2 separate regions of the Homo sapiens genome follow, and region 2 is linked to region 1. The links are contacts of gene promoters, found by promoter capture Hi-C in blood cells and fetal thymus (Javierre and others, 2016). All regions are on one chromosome and are shown on one strand. Each heading gives the region's core, a stretch centred on a gene start or on the middle of the fragment in contact. The rest is flanking DNA. Distances are from core to core; before and after follow the strand shown.

The links. Contacts are between HindIII fragments. The CHiCAGO score rates a contact against its expected background, and 5 or more counts as called.
Region 2: a fragment that was not itself captured here is called in contact with the fragment with the promoter of CCDC86 in region 1 in 2 of 17 cell types (total CD8 T cells and naive CD8 T cells); the score reaches 5.2 in total CD8 T cells.

The regions. Positions count from the first base shown.
Region 1 is chr11:60,838,240-60,846,202 of GRCh38, forward strand. It overlaps CCDC86 (coiled-coil domain containing 86), which reads left to right and starts at 3,874. Exons shown (of 4, transcript NM_024098.4): 1 at 3,874-4,643. The coding sequence starts at 3,886. CCDC86-AS1 (CCDC86 antisense RNA 1) reads right to left here. Exons shown (of 2, transcript NR_182293.1): 2 at 3,567-3,741. RefSeq lists enhancers at 2,964-4,163, 4,070-4,299. The HindIII fragment of the contact is 9,112 bases long and covers 1-5,885 here.
Region 2 is chr11:60,925,106-60,933,068 of GRCh38, forward strand. It overlaps TMEM132A (transmembrane protein 132A), which reads left to right. Exons shown (of 11, transcript NM_178031.3): 2 at 2,099-2,313; 3 at 2,536-2,754; 4 at 3,524-3,855; 5 at 5,405-5,554; 6 at 6,584-6,779; 7 at 6,879-7,022. LOC124902676 (a long non-coding RNA gene) reads right to left here and starts at 292. Exons shown (of 2, transcript XR_007062688.1): 1 at 114-292. The HindIII fragment of the contact is 232 bases long and covers 4,943-5,174 here.

The DNA of each region.
Region 1 (7,963 bases), core at 2,624-5,123:
CGAACCGGAGCTCTGGGGAGCACAGGAGCACCCAGAAGAGGTCTGGCGCGTGGTAAGTGCTCAGTTAATGCTGCTGATGACCGCCAGGGGCCCTTTCCCTGCCCTTCTCTCAGAGTTGGCTTCTGGAGAAACACAGCCTGAAACACCGGGGCAAGCAATGATTGGTCCAGGCATTGTTTCAAGCACTCTGCAAGTACACCACCACACCAGGCTCTTCTGAAAATTTCAGGAGTCTCCTCTGGGCCTCTGCACACCATGTATAATGACAATGACAAACTGAGCTCAGGTGGGAGTAGGGGGTTCTGGGCCAGAGCCCACCTGATGCTGAGGTTGACAAAGTGTCTCCAAGTGTCTGGGGGCCACCCAAAGGCCTCCTCTAAAACACATCTCCCTCTCTCTGGTGAAAACCTGAGATCACCCTCTGAAGTATTTCAGGCAAGGCTAGGTGTTGAACAGAAAGCCATGGGGACCCAGGTCTCTGACATCTGGGGACTGTCAGACCCTCTCAACTGTAGCACCCCTTAGCTGGGGGGAGGTCAATGACTCAGAGGAGAACACCTGATCCTATCTTCCATCCATCTGCCAGCGCTTGGTTTCCATCAGTCAGCAGATCTCAGGTTACATAAATAAACTGGTATTGCTGATTCGGCACATTCTGCACGATGGTGTGTGCCAGGTGGTACCCACCTCCTCCCAGCACACAGACCAGAATCAGTGTGACGAATAGGTGAGCAAGGCCCATGTGGGGGCAGCTGCAAGGCAGCTAAGCATGCCACCTCTGGAACCACAATCCTGGCTCCTGAATGTGCCGCTGTCTGATTTTGGGCAAGCACCTTAGCCTTCCCATGCCTGATTCCTTGCCTGGATAACAGGCAGATTTACTGTTAAGAGTTGTGGCTCTGGAATCAGACAGTCTAGGTGTGGATCTTGCCTCTACCACTTATTTGCTGTGTGACCTTTACAAGTGTCTCAGCCTCTCTGTGCCTCAGTCTTTTTTTTTTTTTTTTTTTGAGACAGAGTCTTGCTCTGCCACCCAGGTTGCTGTGCAGTGGCACGATCTTGGTTCACTGCAACCTCTACCTCCCAGGTTCAAGCAATTCCCCTGCCTCAGCCTCCTGAGTAGCTGGGACTCGAGGCGCCTGCCACCACACCCAGCTAATTTTTGTACTTTTAGTAGAGATGGGGTTTCATCATGTTGGCCAGGCTGGTCTTGAACTCCTGGCCTCCAGTGATCCGCCCACCTTGGCCTCCCAAAGTACTGGGATTACTACAGGTGTGAGCCAGCGCACCCAGCCTCTCAGTTTCTTTATCTGTAAACTGGGAGTAATAACAACTGCACCTGCCTCACAGGATTGTTGGGAGAAGCATTAAGAAATGGATTTGTACTTGGAGAGTACTTGAAACAATGCCTGGACCAATCATTGCTGGCACCAATGTTTCAGGCTAGGTTTCTGCAGAAGCCAACTCTGAGAAGAGGATTAAGTACAATATTTGTCTGCTCTGAGAATGACCTCAGCAAGCATCTATAAGAAAGTGGGGAAGTGAGACAGGGATGAAGCCAAAAGAGGGTCCATGAGCAGATTACCTTTGTGGGCAATGCAAGTTCAATCCTGTTGGTGGCCTCTGGGGGCTACAGAGAAGCCCCTCAGTATCCTACCACCTAAAGGCAAGAAAGCTGTGATGTAGAAAGCTGCAATAAAAGCAAAGGAGTGGCCAGGCACAGTGGCTCACGCCTGTAATCCCAACACTTCAGGAGGCCGAGGCAGGAGGATCACTTGAGCCCAGGAGTTCAAGACCAGCCTGAGCAACACAGGGAGACCCCGTTTCTACAAAAAAAAAAAAATAGCCAGGCATGGTGGCATGAGCCTGTGGTGCCAGCTACTCAGGTGGGAGGATCCCTGGGGCCTGGGAGGTCAAGGCTGCAGTGAGCTGTGATTGTGCCACTGCACTCCAGCCTGGACAACAGAGCAAGACCCTGTCTCAAAAATAATAATAATTTTTAAAAGAAAGCAAAGGAGTGTAAGGAGACAGGGTCCCAACAGCGATCGCCACACCAGGCGCTTCTGAAAATTTCAGGAGTCTCCTCTGGGCCTCTGCACACCATGTATAATGACAATGACAAACTGAGCTCATGTGGGAGTAGGGGGTTCTGGGCCAGAGCCCATCTGATGCTGAGGTTGACAAAGTGCCTCCAAATGTCTGGGGGCCACCCAAAGGCCTCCTCTAAAACACATCTCCCTCTCTCTGGTGAAAACCTGAGATCACCCTCTGAAGTATTTCAGGCTAGACTAGGATATGATCCAATCGGCACTGGAGAGTGATCCCTCCAGCTGGGGACAAGAGCTTAGGAGGCAGGGCAAGCCAAGGGGGACTGGAGCAGGGCAGAGGGGCATACAGTCTCCTCCAGCACTCTGGCAACACCTGCCGGGCTTGGTTCTGAGTGTCAGATCATTGGGGTCTCCAGGCAGGGGCAGGGCATTTAAGGAACTGAATGGAACTCACTCCTCTGACAGTTGGGGGGTGGAAGAGCTGGGCAAGGAGGTGTCCCGGCTGCTTCTGCTGTGGACAGCTGCATGGCCGGAGAGGAGCAGTGAGGCAGGCAAAGCCCCCCTGCAGGGGTCTCCTTGACTCAGGAACATGAGGAAGATGAGGACACTCTGATCCCTGATATTCTTGGACAATTTCCCAGGCCCTCTCACAAGCCCGCAGCTGGAGAAACAATGGTTTCTAAAAGAAACCACTGGAATGTCAGACGGGGCCCTGGGACCTTTAATGGCCAACCCCAGGCAGTTCCAAGAATTACACAACTGGGCCACTTCCAAGATGTTCTTCCTAAGAAGCATGCTGTAAGTAAATCAAAGCCCCACTCCTAGGTCTCACACGAAAGTCTCCACAGCCCCACATTCCCCAACCCCACATCCCGAGAGTCTTCTCTAGGCCTTGGGAGGTCCAGAAGTCAACACCTGCTCACTGGTGAGGTCCCAAAGTGCTTAGTAAGCAAAGTACATTTACAGGTGAATAGCAAGGGAAGGGAGGGGAGGCGAAGCAGGTTCACACACGAGCAAAAACCACTGTCTGGGCTGAAAGGAAGATCGGAGATGATCCAACCCGTTTCTAGAACTGGGGTAGAAGAAGAGGGACGTGGGAGGATATGCAGCTGGTCGAGGGCCCAGGTGAGCCACAGGACAAAGGTGGTGCATCTTATTGGTACCTCAACTTCCCTCACAAACGTTGAAAACGCTGAAAAGGGAGGGAGAGCTATGGATTATATACGGAAGCACAGGACGGAAGAATCAAGAGTGTGAACAATTAACACAGAAAAGACCGATCTTCCACCTCCAGGACCCCCAGGTAGCAGTCCCTCAGGTAGGTGGGAGGAGGACTCTGACAGGATCATTTGGGATGCACGAAGCTAGTGCAAAATGACCCCTATTACAAATGAGAAAACAGGCCCAAGGAGGGCAGGACTCTGCCCAACTGCACCGGAGTTGGCTGCAAAACATCCACTGGGCCTTGCCTATGGGCTCCTCGGACCTTTTTTCGACTCTGTTCTCTCCCTGAAATGGGTCCTCCCACTTTCCCTTTTCTACTTGCTCGCTCTTCTTTCCCCAGGAAACTTTGCAAGAAAGGCAAAAGCGAATCCCAGGAAAAAGACTGGCTCATCAATCACATGTTGACTGCGCTCGCGCGAATTGCGCATGCGCATGCTGAGCCCCACTCTCCCCAACCCCGGTCCCGCCTCTCCACCCCTCACCAACATGGCCGCCTCAGCAACAGCCCCCCTCCTGTGCGTCACGGACGCGGCGACTCCTGACGTCATAGGAAGGCGCCGGTTTCGGCGGGGGCTGCACGTGCGCAGGGGTGTGGAAACTTACCGGCTGAGCCATGGATACACCGTTAAGGCGCAGCCGACGGCTGGGAGGCCTAAGGCCCGAATCCCCCGAGAGCCTCACCTCAGTTTCGCGGACGAGACGGGCCCTTGTGGAGTTCGAGTCGAACCCAGAAGAAACGAGGGAGCCCGGGTCTCCTCCGAGTGTGCAGCGGGCTGGCCTGGGGTCCCCCGAAAGGCCGCCGAAGACAAGCCCAGGATCACCCCGTCTGCAGCAGGGTGCAGGCTTGGAGTCACCCCAAGGGCAGCCAGAGCCAGGCGCAGCGTCCCCCCAGCGTCAGCAAGACCTACACCTGGAGTCGCCTCAAAGACAGCCAGAGTACAGTCCTGAATCCCCACGATGTCAGCCGAAGCCAAGTGAGGAGGCACCAAAGTGTTCTCAGGACCAGGGAGTACTGGCCTCGGAGTTGGCCCAGAATAAGGAGGAGCTGACCCCGGGGGCCCCCCAGCATCAGCTACCGCCGGTCCCAGGATCACCAGAGCCTTACCCCGGTCAGCAAGCTCCCGGTCCGGAGCCCTCTCAGCCACTACTGGAGCTGACACCCAGGGCACCTGGCTCCCCCCGGGGTCAGCATGAGCCGAGCAAGCCACCTCCAGCTGGGGAGACGGTGACAGGCGGCTTCGGGGCAAAGAAGCGAAAAGGTTCTTCATCCCAGGCCCCAGCGTCCAAGAAGTTGAATAAAGAGGAGCTTCCTGTAATCCCGAAGGGGAAGCCCAAATCGGGGCGAGTGTGGAAGGACCGCTCCAAGAAAAGGTGAAGTGGGGGACAGCATGGACAGGGGTGGCGTTCTCTATGGTGTTGGGACCCCGCCTTTGCCCTGCTGCAGCCTGGAGAATAGCCCCAGGGTTAGAGAGAGCTCACGTTAGTGGGGATGTTAGCAAACAGGTAATTACAATCAGAATGTGGTAAAATGCCCTGGGATCCCGGAGAGGGTGGGGCCAGGCCCTCAAAGATCAATTTCTCTGATGCCTTTCCTCCTCAGGGTCCCTATGGGCCTCTCCTGTAGCACCTCAGGTCTGTATTCGTTCAACAGACATTTACCGTTGTCTGCCCTCTCTAGTGAGAGAAGCAGAAGCAAGTAAACCAGCCATTACTTGATCAAAGCAGTGAGGTCTTCATCCAATATAGTCTATTACAGTTATTTGCCTTTAAGATAAAAAGTATTACTGAGCACTGATTATATAAGGATTTACCAGTCAACAGCCTTAATAAGGATTTACCAGTCAACAGCCTTTCAAACATGGAACAGCATGTGTCATCACGCTTAATCTGCACGTCAGCCCTGTGAAGCAGGCGGTGTTATTATTCCTGTTTTTTGTGTGAGGAAACCAAGGCTAAATGAGTGGTAGGCACAGGACCTGAGCACAGATCTGATTCCGAAGCCTGTGTGCAAAAAACCCCTTTACCCAATCCCTGTAGATCCACCTTGAATTGGATTGCGACCTTCTTAAGGGGCAGGCACGAGATCTTTCTTGTCTTTCTGTGCCAAGGGCATAGTAAATGCCCAATGAATGCTTATTTAATGAAGGAACGAAGTAGCTCATCTGAAGAAGGAAGAGTGTAGGCTGCCATGAAGGAGAGGTGTGGGATTCAGTTCCAATTCGAGCTAATGGGAACCACAGGGGAGAGTCAGGGATGTATGCCTGTGAGGGACCATGAGGAAGGAGGGTGTTTTTAAGGAAGAAGCTGACTCTGTGCCAGGCTTCGTGCTAGGCCCTTTTCTTGTATCCTTAAAACCCTAGGCTGTGGATATTATCCCCCCACCCCTGATGAAACAGAAGAAACTGAGGCTTACAGAGTAATTTACTGCAAGTCTCCCATGGGAGAGACTTTGAGGCTAGAGTGACTGTAACTGTTGGAGAAGTGGATGATGGCACTACCCCTCTGCCCTGTCCCAGGGGGTCACAGGAGAATGGCAGGGCCGTTGATGGCCATGTGGAACTGGAGGAGGCTGGTTCAGGTGGGAAGAGGGTGATGAGCAAGTTGAGCGGGTGAAGCTTGGGGTCCTGGTACTCACGCTGCAGGTGGGGAGATGGGCTTGCTGAGCTAGAGGGGGCTGGGCCCATGCAGAGGTGGGGAGAAGGGAGGGGCCCACACAAGACACAGGATCAGCAGCTGGAGCAGAGTAGGAGGCCACAGATCACTTGACCAAGAAGTCTGGAGAGAGGGTGTGTGGTTCCAGCTCCCTGCCCAACTGCAGACCCGTCCTGACTCACTGTTGCTCACTCAGAGCATGCACTCCAGACTCCTTAATGAGGCCGGCAGGCCCACCCTCCTCTCCCCTCCATCACTAGAGCTTCCACACTGTTGTCCCCTCCATGTTCCTCCCATGTGTGACGCTCCCTCCTTCCTCAGCGCCTTCACACGTGCTGTTCCCACTGTTTGAAAGGCTCTTTCCCTGGCCAGTCCCCCACTCATGTTTCAGGGCTCAGTTCAAATGTCACCTCCTCTGAAAAGCCTCTCTGGCTTATCCAACTAGGGTTAAGTCCCCATGCTTTATGTTATCATTGTGTGCTGTACTTCTCTTTTGTAACACCTCCATTTGCACAAATGCTTATTTATTTGTGATTCTTATTGACTGCCTGTTTTCCTTTAAACCGGAGGCTCCGTGAGAGTGTAAGAGTGGGGACTTACCTATCATGACTAGATGCCCCAGAGCCCAGTGCAGGGTAGGGCACTAAGCTGAACAAGTGGATGAATTGAGGACAGAAGGTAGTTCATTCATTCATCAACCAGTTGCTCAGATCTTGGGTAAACATGTCTGTGAACAAAAAGTCTCTGCTCTCCTGAAGCAAACATTCTAAATGTGGGAAACAGATAAAGAACAAGTACACACATGATATGTCAGTAATAAAGACTTCAAAGAAAAATAAACCAGGATGGGGACCAGAGAATAACAGGGAGGGCAGGGTATTGCCACAGTGCTCAGAGATGGCCTTGCAGATAAACAGGTCTGAGCAGAGGGAGCCGGGCAGAGATCTGGGGAAACAGTATCCAGGCAACAGGAAAGGGATGTTCAGAGGTATTGAGGCGGGAGCAAGCTCCCGTTTGAGAGGCTTTCCAGAGGTCTCGCTGCTGGAATGAGGGGGAGAAGGGGAACAGTAGGAGATGAGGTCAGAGAGACAGCAGGACCTGGTGACCCTTACAGGGACTCCCGGCTTTCCTGAGTGAGCTTGGGAGCCATGGAAGGGTGTCAAGCAAAGGAATGAAATGACCTGACTTGTGAGATCAGCCTGGCTACTGAACACAGACATAGGCGGGCAGGGGTGAAGGCAGGAAAACCCACAAGGAGGCTGTCTCAAGAGAACTAAAACAGCTTCCGAAGCTGCAGGCAAGTCTGTGGCGAGGGGCCCAGCAGGGCCACTGAATGGATGTTTGGGATCTTTGAGGGAGCAGCTTCGGTGGGTAGTAAGTGAGCCTGGAGATGGGTGGGAAGCAGCTCCTGCTGCAGGGAGGAAGACAGCCGCAGCTGGGAAAGTGTATGTGGTGAGGGAGACCTGGCTGCAGCCCTGTCTTCGTGCTCATGCCAAACGCCACTTTCTCCATAGTGCCCTTGGGCATGCTGTCTGCCTTCTCTGAGGAGTAGCATTTATGGAGCACCTATTACGTGTGTGTGTCGATTAAATCTCCCACCACCCTTTGGGTTAGGAATGATTCTCATCTCCACTGGACAGGATGCTGAGACTTAGAGAGGCTACCTTGCTCCAGGTCACCCAGGTTGGACTTGGAACCCAGGCCTGAGTTTCCTCAATACCCAGGTAGAACCAATGGTCTGGAACTGCCCTGCCTCAGTACCTTAGCCGCCAGCCACATGTGGCTATGTACATTTAAATTAATTAAAATTAAATAAAATTTAAGATTCAGTTTCTCTATCAACACCAACCACATTTCTAGCGCTCAGCAGCCACCCATGACTAGTGGCTACCTTATTGGACAGTGTCAATGTGGAATGTTTCCACCATCACAGAACGTTCTGTTTGACAGCCCTGCTCTACACAGATGCAGCACTGTGTCTTGTGGTTCTGTGTGTCTCTAGGCTCCCAACACCTTGTCCCTTCAGGGTTCTCGTACCC
Region 2 (7,963 bases), core at 3,809-6,308, 88 kb after region 1:
GCCTCCTTCCGCCGCCACCAACCCACCCCCCTCGGGAGTGGAAAGCAGCCCCTTTGCCTGGGACCTGCAACAGACGCAAGCCCTCCCTCCCCCTTCCCCCAGGGCTCCCTGACCTTGGCGTCTCCAGGGATGGCCGCATCCTTGCCTTCCAGAACCTTTGAGAGGATTCCTGTCACTGCGGGAAAGGGCAGCAACTTCCCTGTGCTTCGGGGTGGGGGTCGGACTCCCTTGGCCTGGGCTAGCTGGGCTGTGGCTGCAAGGCAAAGGATGCCACAGAAGACAGAGGGACAGTGAAACATTCTCTGCCCTCCCCACCGAGAGAGCCGAGCGCTGGGTGATGGGAGTCCGTGGGAGTCAGGCTAAGAGCATCTTGTAATTATGGAGGCAATGGAGTAGGAGGCGAACCTGAAGCCAGTGGCTGCCCCCAGAGAGCAGTGGTCACTTGTTACGCTTGGGGCAGGGGGCAGGGAGAGCCTGTCAGTCATATGCTCCTTGGTGGGGAGGGCCAGGAAGGAGGTTGAAACCAATTCCCCCACCCCCACCCACAGTCCAGCTGTGGGGCTGAGAGGGAGCTAGCTGTGGGGTTGCTTTCAGCCACCTGCTCCCCATCCCGAGGGACGCCATGGGAGTCCTAATAGAGAGAGGAGGAAAACCTTGTCAAATCCATTATGCAGCAGCAATAATGCCTGCTCCCTCCAGACAGCACTCCACAGTTTACACAGCCCTGTCCTGTCCACAGTGCCACCTAATGCTCCTGCCCCTTTTACAAGTGAGGAAACAGGCTTCAAAATGTTAATGCCTGACCCAAGTTTCATCAATTTAAATTCAGGTCTCCAGGCTCCCAGGAAATCCTCTCTAGGGAGCGCTTCCTAGTTTGGGGGAATTCCAGGATGAGCAAGACAGGGTCCCTTGTTTATAGGAAGATTACTAATTCAGAGGAGGCACCCAGGGTTGCAAAAGACAGGAGACTGGTGGGAAGGTGAGTAACCAAGGAGGGCTTCCTTCAGAAGGAGGCAGTATTCACTCATGGCCCTGAATGAGGAGGGAGGTGCCACCGGGCAGAGCAGAGGAGAGGAGGTGCGCTCCAGGGCATGAAGCCTGCAGGGTGCACCGTGGCAGTGGAGAGTGGAGAGAGAAGTGGCAGGTGGAGACGCCGGATGGTCTAGTGGCTAATACCTGGGATCAACCCCCAGCTCCTTCACTCTCCAGCTGTGGAACCACAGGCAAATACCTTAACCTCTCGGCCTCATTTTCTACATCCACAAAATGGGATTCATCATAATAGAACCTGGTTCACAGAATTATTACAAAGACTCAAAGAGTTCATATACATACAGTATTTAAATTCTCACCTGCATATAGCATTCACAAAATGCTAATTATTATTATTAGTGCTCATAGTTAGAGCAAACCAATATGGCTTAGTGCTCCTTTGTCCTTCTGATGATTGACTATTTTGACTGTCTTCCCCAGGCTCCTGGTCCCCACCCCACCCCCAGGGCAAGCAAGTGCCTTCACAGACCTCTTCAGCACCTTCCGCGCCCGCCCATCCCACACTTGCACTCGATACCAGTCGGTTCAGGGAAGAAGGGAGCAAGCTTGGAAAGATGGTGCAGGTTGCCATGGCAATGATGGGGGAGGAGGGGTGGATGCCCAGCAGAGCCTGGCCAAGGATTCAGGGCAGAGAAAGCTCACTTCATTACCATATTTTACTACACTGGCCCAGTCTGCCGACGGTTGCACCCCAGAAGTGCCTTGGTATCAGAGGCGAGTAGATGGAGGGCAGGAGTTGGGGAAAAGGAGACATTGAGAAGGCTGTTGGCGAGAAGAAGGCCAAGGTCTGTGGAAAGTAGAAGGAATAGCTGGGAAGCATCCAGTCCTGGACTCAGATTCGAATCCTGGCTTTGCTACATACTACCTGTGTGAGGCTCTTTAAGCCTCAGTGACCTCATCTGTGAAATGGTGGTGAGAGGGGAAGGGACATTTACAGCCCTTTTCTCCCTCCCTTGCCCACAACTACTGTGCCCCAGCATGGCACCCGGGTCAGCCCCTGCCAGCTCTGGAGCTGTCATCATCTCTCCCTCTTATGCCTCTTCAGTGGACTGTGGCCAGGCTCCCCTGGACCCTGTCTACCTGCCGGCAGCCCTGGAGCTCCTAGACGCCCCTGAACACTTCCGTGTGCAGCAGGTGGGCCACTACCCACCTGCCAACTCCTCTCTGAGCTCCCGATCTGAGACCTTTCTGCTCCTACAGCCCTGGCCCAGGGCCCAGCCACTTCTCCGGGCCTCCTACCCACCTTTTGCCACTCAGCAGGTAAGGAGGGGGCACCGGGGACTCTCAGGCTAACAGGACTCAGGGCCTGAGGTCTGCTGGGTACAAATTGGGAGCCTTCCCCAGCCCCGGCTGTGCTCCCCATATTCCAGAGGGGGAAACTGAGGCCCATAAAGGTTCTCTTCTGCCAAGCTGGGATCCCATCTTCCTAGATCTTCCCCTCCCAAGCTCCTCTTTTGTTAAGCCCTCTCATTCTCCCTCCAGGTGGTCCCCCCTCGAGTCACTGAGCCCCACCAACGGCCAGTCCCATGGGACGTGCGGGCCGTTTCAGTGGAAGCGGCTGTGACTCCAGCAGAGCCCTACGCCCGGGTTCTCTTCCACCTCAAAGGGCAGGATTGGCCACCAGGGTCTGGCAGCCTGCCCTGTGCCCGGCTCCATGCCACACACCCTGCCGGCACTGCTCACCAAGCCTGCCGCTTCCAGGTGAGTAGACAGGCCCCACCTAGGCTGGTCCTGCTGCAGCTGCATCAGCCAGGTGGTGGGCCCGCGGCAGAGAGGAAACCCCCACTCCTGGGAAGCGCGGGGGTTGTGGACCACCCGACTCCATTTCTGCCCCCACTAGCTTTCAGTGCTGTGAAAAGGTTATTTAGGGCCCCAGAGGGAGTTCAGTCCTTGGTGTGTGACTTTGAGTAAGTAACTTAATCTCTCTGAGATTCAGTTTCCTCATCTGAAGAATGGGGTGTTAAGAATTCCTACCCCATCTGGAGTTGGAGTAAGGAACAAGTGAGATGAATGTAAGGATAGCTTACGGCAGAGTAATCAATCAGCCAGTGTGTTTGCATTATTAGTAGTGTTACTTTTATAATTGCTATTTCCACTATTTTGGAGTCTAGCACAGGAATCCATGGGAGAGGCGTCTCTTGAGCTTTAGGATTCTGAGAAGAAGACTGGATTCTAGGCAGGATAGTCCTGGGCTTGGTTAGGGTAAGGCCCTGGGATTGGCTTACTTTGTAATGAGACCTATCCCAAGGGCTGAAGAGTGGTCTGCGGACATGCTCTGAAACCTAGACCTGGTTTGAAGCCCCAGCCAGGTTGCTGGTTTGCTGTGTCACTCAGGCTGTGTCTCCGGCCCATGCTGGGCCTCCCTTTCATGAGCCCCTCCAGCTCTGGGTTTCCTGCCATGGGTGCTGAGAATCCTGTTCCTCGCCCTGCACCCACCCCCATGCCAATTACTGCTGTCGTGTCTTCACAGCCATCCCTGGGCGCCTGCGTGGTGGAGCTGGAGCTTCCCTCGCACTGGTTCTCACAGGCCTCCACCACACGGGCCGAGCTGGCCTACACGCTTGAGCCTGCAGCTGAGGGCCCTGGGGGCTGTGGCTCCGGCGAGGAGAACGACCCTGGGGAGCAGGCCCTCCCAGTGGGGGGTGTGGAGCTGCGCCCAGCAGACCCCCCGCAGTACCAGGAGGTACCTCTGGACGAGGCTGTGACTCTGCGGGTGCCTGACATGCCAGTGCGGCCCGGCCAGCTCTTTAGTGCTACCCTCCTGCTTCGGCACAACTTCACAGCCAGCCTCCTGACCCTGCGGTGAGCACCAGGCCACGGGGATGGGTGAGGGTGGGAACCTCTGTGGGAAGACTAGGGACAGGTACCTGCTCCTCCTGGGGTCCTTGCTGGAATCCTTGACCTCTGCAAAACATGTGTCCACCAAACTAAACTCCTTCCAGGTAAAAAGCCATGACTGTGCTGGTAGGAGCCCACCATGGGCACAGCCCTGGAATTAGAGTCAGAAGTAGGAAGCTGCCCCTTCCCCTGGCACCTCCCTGAGATTCCTTTGTCCAATGGGGCTAACGGTCCACCTTCAGGGCAGCTGCAAGTCTCCAGGGAGGGGAACCCGCAAAGGGCTTAGAGACTGCAGTACCTAAGTGTGAGCTCTTGCTCCAGTGCTCCAGAGAGGGATATTTGCCCCAATCACGTTCACCTACATGCTGTCCCTCCTTGCCACCCTCGCCGTAGGAGTCTAGCCTTTGGACAGAGCTTGCTCTTCCCCATAGGAAGGCCCTGATTCTTTGTGTCCTTTTCCGTAATAAGTTCCCCCAAAGCAGCCCCCACCCACCTACCCAGTTCACCCGGCAAGGGCTTGCAGAGTATGACTTGCTTCTGGAGTCCAGCGCAGGAATCCATGGGAGAGGCATCTCTTAGGCTTTAAGATTCTGAGAAGCCTGAGTTCTAGGCAGGATAGTCCTGGGCTTGGTTAGGGTGAGGCACTGGGACTTGCTCACTTTGTAATGATATCTTTCCTGAGGATCGAAGAGCGGTCTGTGGACATGCTTTGAAACCTAGACCTAGTTTCAAGCCCTGCCTGGGTTTGTGCATGTCCCGTCTCTGTGTCTCCCCATCTCCTACGCCCTCCTATGCTCACTCTTATTAAGCAGATCTTTCCTAGACACTTACAGCCTGCCAAGCCCTGTGTCTTCACTCTGCAGATCCAAACACGAGCAAGGGCCAGTCCCTATCTGGCAGAAAGGGGCCCCAGTGGTAGGGAAGGGAGCTGGATGGGCATGAATTGGATTAGAAGGCATGTGGGTGTGTAAGCACTGAGGGAGGTTCAAAGTGCGGTGGGAGCTCAGGTGAGTGGGTGCAGTAAGGGGGAAATTCATCCCACCACTGGAAAAGCTTTCTAAAGGAAATGGTCTGTGAGTTGTTGGAGGCTTAAAGCATCAGCAGGTAAAGTAAGAAAGGGCAGAGCAGGCTGAAGGCACAGACTGGGCAAAGGCTTGGAGTCACGAATGGGTGCCGTGTGTGTGGGAAACTTGTGTGTAGCTGAAGCAGAGAGTGCATGGAGAGATGTCACAACCGAAGTTAAGGCTGGACCAGACCCTGGAGGGCCCCCAAATGCCCGGCTAAGCTTTGACCTTATGGGCAGTGGGGAGGCGTAAGTGGTCTTTGGGTGGGGGAGAGCTGTAAGGTGTGAGCTGCACTGAGGCGGGGTCCTTCTGGGTTGGAGGATGGTGAAGAGGAGATTCAGACTGGAGCCAGGGAGGTCAGATGGCTTTGGCTCCTTGTCTTTCCCCTTCAATCCAGCCCACAGTTCAGCATGCACCTTGCCAAACTGAGCCTATACTCTCTTCCCCAGGATCAAGGTGAAGAAGGGGCTGCATGTGACAGCCGCCCGCCCAGCCCAGCCCACACTCTGGACTGCCAAGCTGGACCGCTTCAAGGGCTCCAGGCACCACACCACCCTCATCACCTGCCACCGTGCTGGGCTCACAGAGCCAGATTCCAGGTGGGCAGTTTCCCTCCACCCAGGGGGCAAAGGAGGGAGGGCTGGTTATAGAGTGCAGTTGAGCAGATTTGGAGGCTGCCATGCTGCCTCTAGATCCCCAGGTGAGCAGACCCAAGGACAGATTTTTTCAAGGAAGCAGCACAAAGCAGGCATAATCCATTCCTTCATTCATTCATTCGGCCACTATCTTCCCAGCCCCAGCCATGTGCCAGGCATAGCAAGTGTCTGTGAGTCTTATTCTAAGAGATGCCAACCAATCCTGTGCCCCAGGTAGAGCCCTCATAGCCACTACTCCATCCCCCTGCTTCCACCAAATGATCCTTTCTCTGGGCCGTTCACATTCCCCCAAAAAGCCCAGCTGCAGTTCTGCGGTTGTGAACTCTTCTTATTCATGCCCTGAGCCTGGGTCAAGGCCATGGACTCAGTAGCCCCAGTTCGAATTCTGGTTCTGATGCTTTTGGGATGGGCAAAACCTTGGGCAAGCCAGTTAACATTCCCCTACCCAAGCCTCAGTTTCTTCACTTGTGAAATAGGAATAATAATGCATCCCTTAGCATTTTTGAAAATAAAATACAGTGCTACATATCAGGCACCCAGGACGGTTCCCAGCACATAGGTTTTTGTTTGATCAAAGGAAGCTTATCATTCAGAGGGTCAAGTGTCTGGTCCTGGGACCTGGAAGTGAATCTCCCGCATGCCACCTCAGTGGCTGTGGAAAGCGGAAGTCTGGGGGAAGCGGGCCCGGGCAGGCAGGGGAGTGAGCCACCTTGCCAGGTGGGAGGTGGTTAAATGGCTTCATGGATCTTAGAGAGGCCAAGAGTGGGTCAGAGTTTGGGGTCTAGAGCGAGGATGCTTGGGTTTAGATCCCAGCCCCGCTACTTTTTGCTGTGTGGTCTTAAGTGAGCTATGTAACCTCTGTGCCTCAGTTTCCTCCTGTGTAAAATGGGGATAATCATGAATGCAGGAAGTGCTGAGGCCATGCCTGGCAGCTAGCAAGCATTTGGCTTCTCTGTCTCCTTTGGCCAGCAGTCCCCTTGAACTGTCTGAGTTCCTATGGGTGGACTTTGTGGTGGAGAATAGCACTGGTGGGGGCGTAGCGGTCACTCGCCCCGTCACGTGGCAGCTGGAGTACCCAGGCCAGGCCCCTGAAGCAGAGAAGGACAAAATGGTGTGGGAAATCCTGGTGTCTGAGCGGGACATCAGAGCCCTTATCCCACTGGCCAAGGTAAGGAGACCTCCATCTCTGCCTGGGAAGGCTGGAGGCCAAGTCCCAGGAGCCCCATGAGCTGAGGGGCCTGGGGCTGAGCCCCTCCTCCACCCCCAGGCTGAGGAGCTGGTGAATACAGCACCACTGACTGGAGTGCCCCAGCATGTCCCCGTGCGCCTTGTCACTGTGGACGGCGGGGGGGCCTTGGTGGAGGTGACAGAGCATGTCGGCTGCGAGTCTGCCAACACACAGGTCCTGCAGGTGAGTGGCAGGTGCCCAGCTCATGTGAGTCTGCATTTGTGTGGGCACAGTTACGCACACACACCTTTCCTCCTTCCTCATGTGGGTCCCCAAGAGAACAGCTTCTTCTTGAGACGAGAAACCTCATGGGAGGAACCACAGCTTCAACTTCTTTTGTTCCAGCCACCTCTCTCCCGAGTCAAGTAACCCTAACAGCCCCCCGACCTTAGACACTTTCACGCTCATTATTGCACTGGCAAGTGCGCTGGCCTGAGAGAGTCGAGAGCACATACTCTGGGATCAGAAAGTTTTAGTTTGAAACACATCTTTGTTGTCAACCAGCTTTGTGATCATGGGCTGGTCTCTTAACCTCTCTGAGCCTCGTTACCTAAACTTTAAAATGAGAACATATCTTCGGGTTGTTGTAAGAATTAAAAGCACTTTAAGACAGTATTTAGCAGATAGCAGGGGCTGAAACAATGGCAGTTATTGCTGTTATAATATGATGTAATAATTATACAATGGTAAAAATTATTATTATTATTATTACCGGTGATTGTGAAGTGAAATAAAAGGGAGGGTGGTAGAGCAACTTCCTCTATCTTGAAGTTCTAAGAGGGGAAGCATGGAGTCTGCATGTATGCAAATCCCAGCCACCTGAAGGGGGAAGGTGCCTTTCCCCACTTGTGGTCCTTTGCTCAAATGTGTGTGGTTCCTGCTGGAGGGCCTTGGTGGGAGATCTGCTTTGTCCCACCTCTGCCTACCTGGCTGTAGCTGGTTGCCAGGTGGCTCCAAGAGCAATGTCAAAGGCCAGCATGAATAAGGAGCCAAAGTTTTGGGTTCACACCCCTGCTCTGCCAGGAGGAAGACTGGTATGCAATGGCCAGTTCCCCTGACTGAGCCCCAGGGAACCTCAAGGAATGGCCCCTACAGTAAAATCTTAAACAAAGAACAGGGGCTTA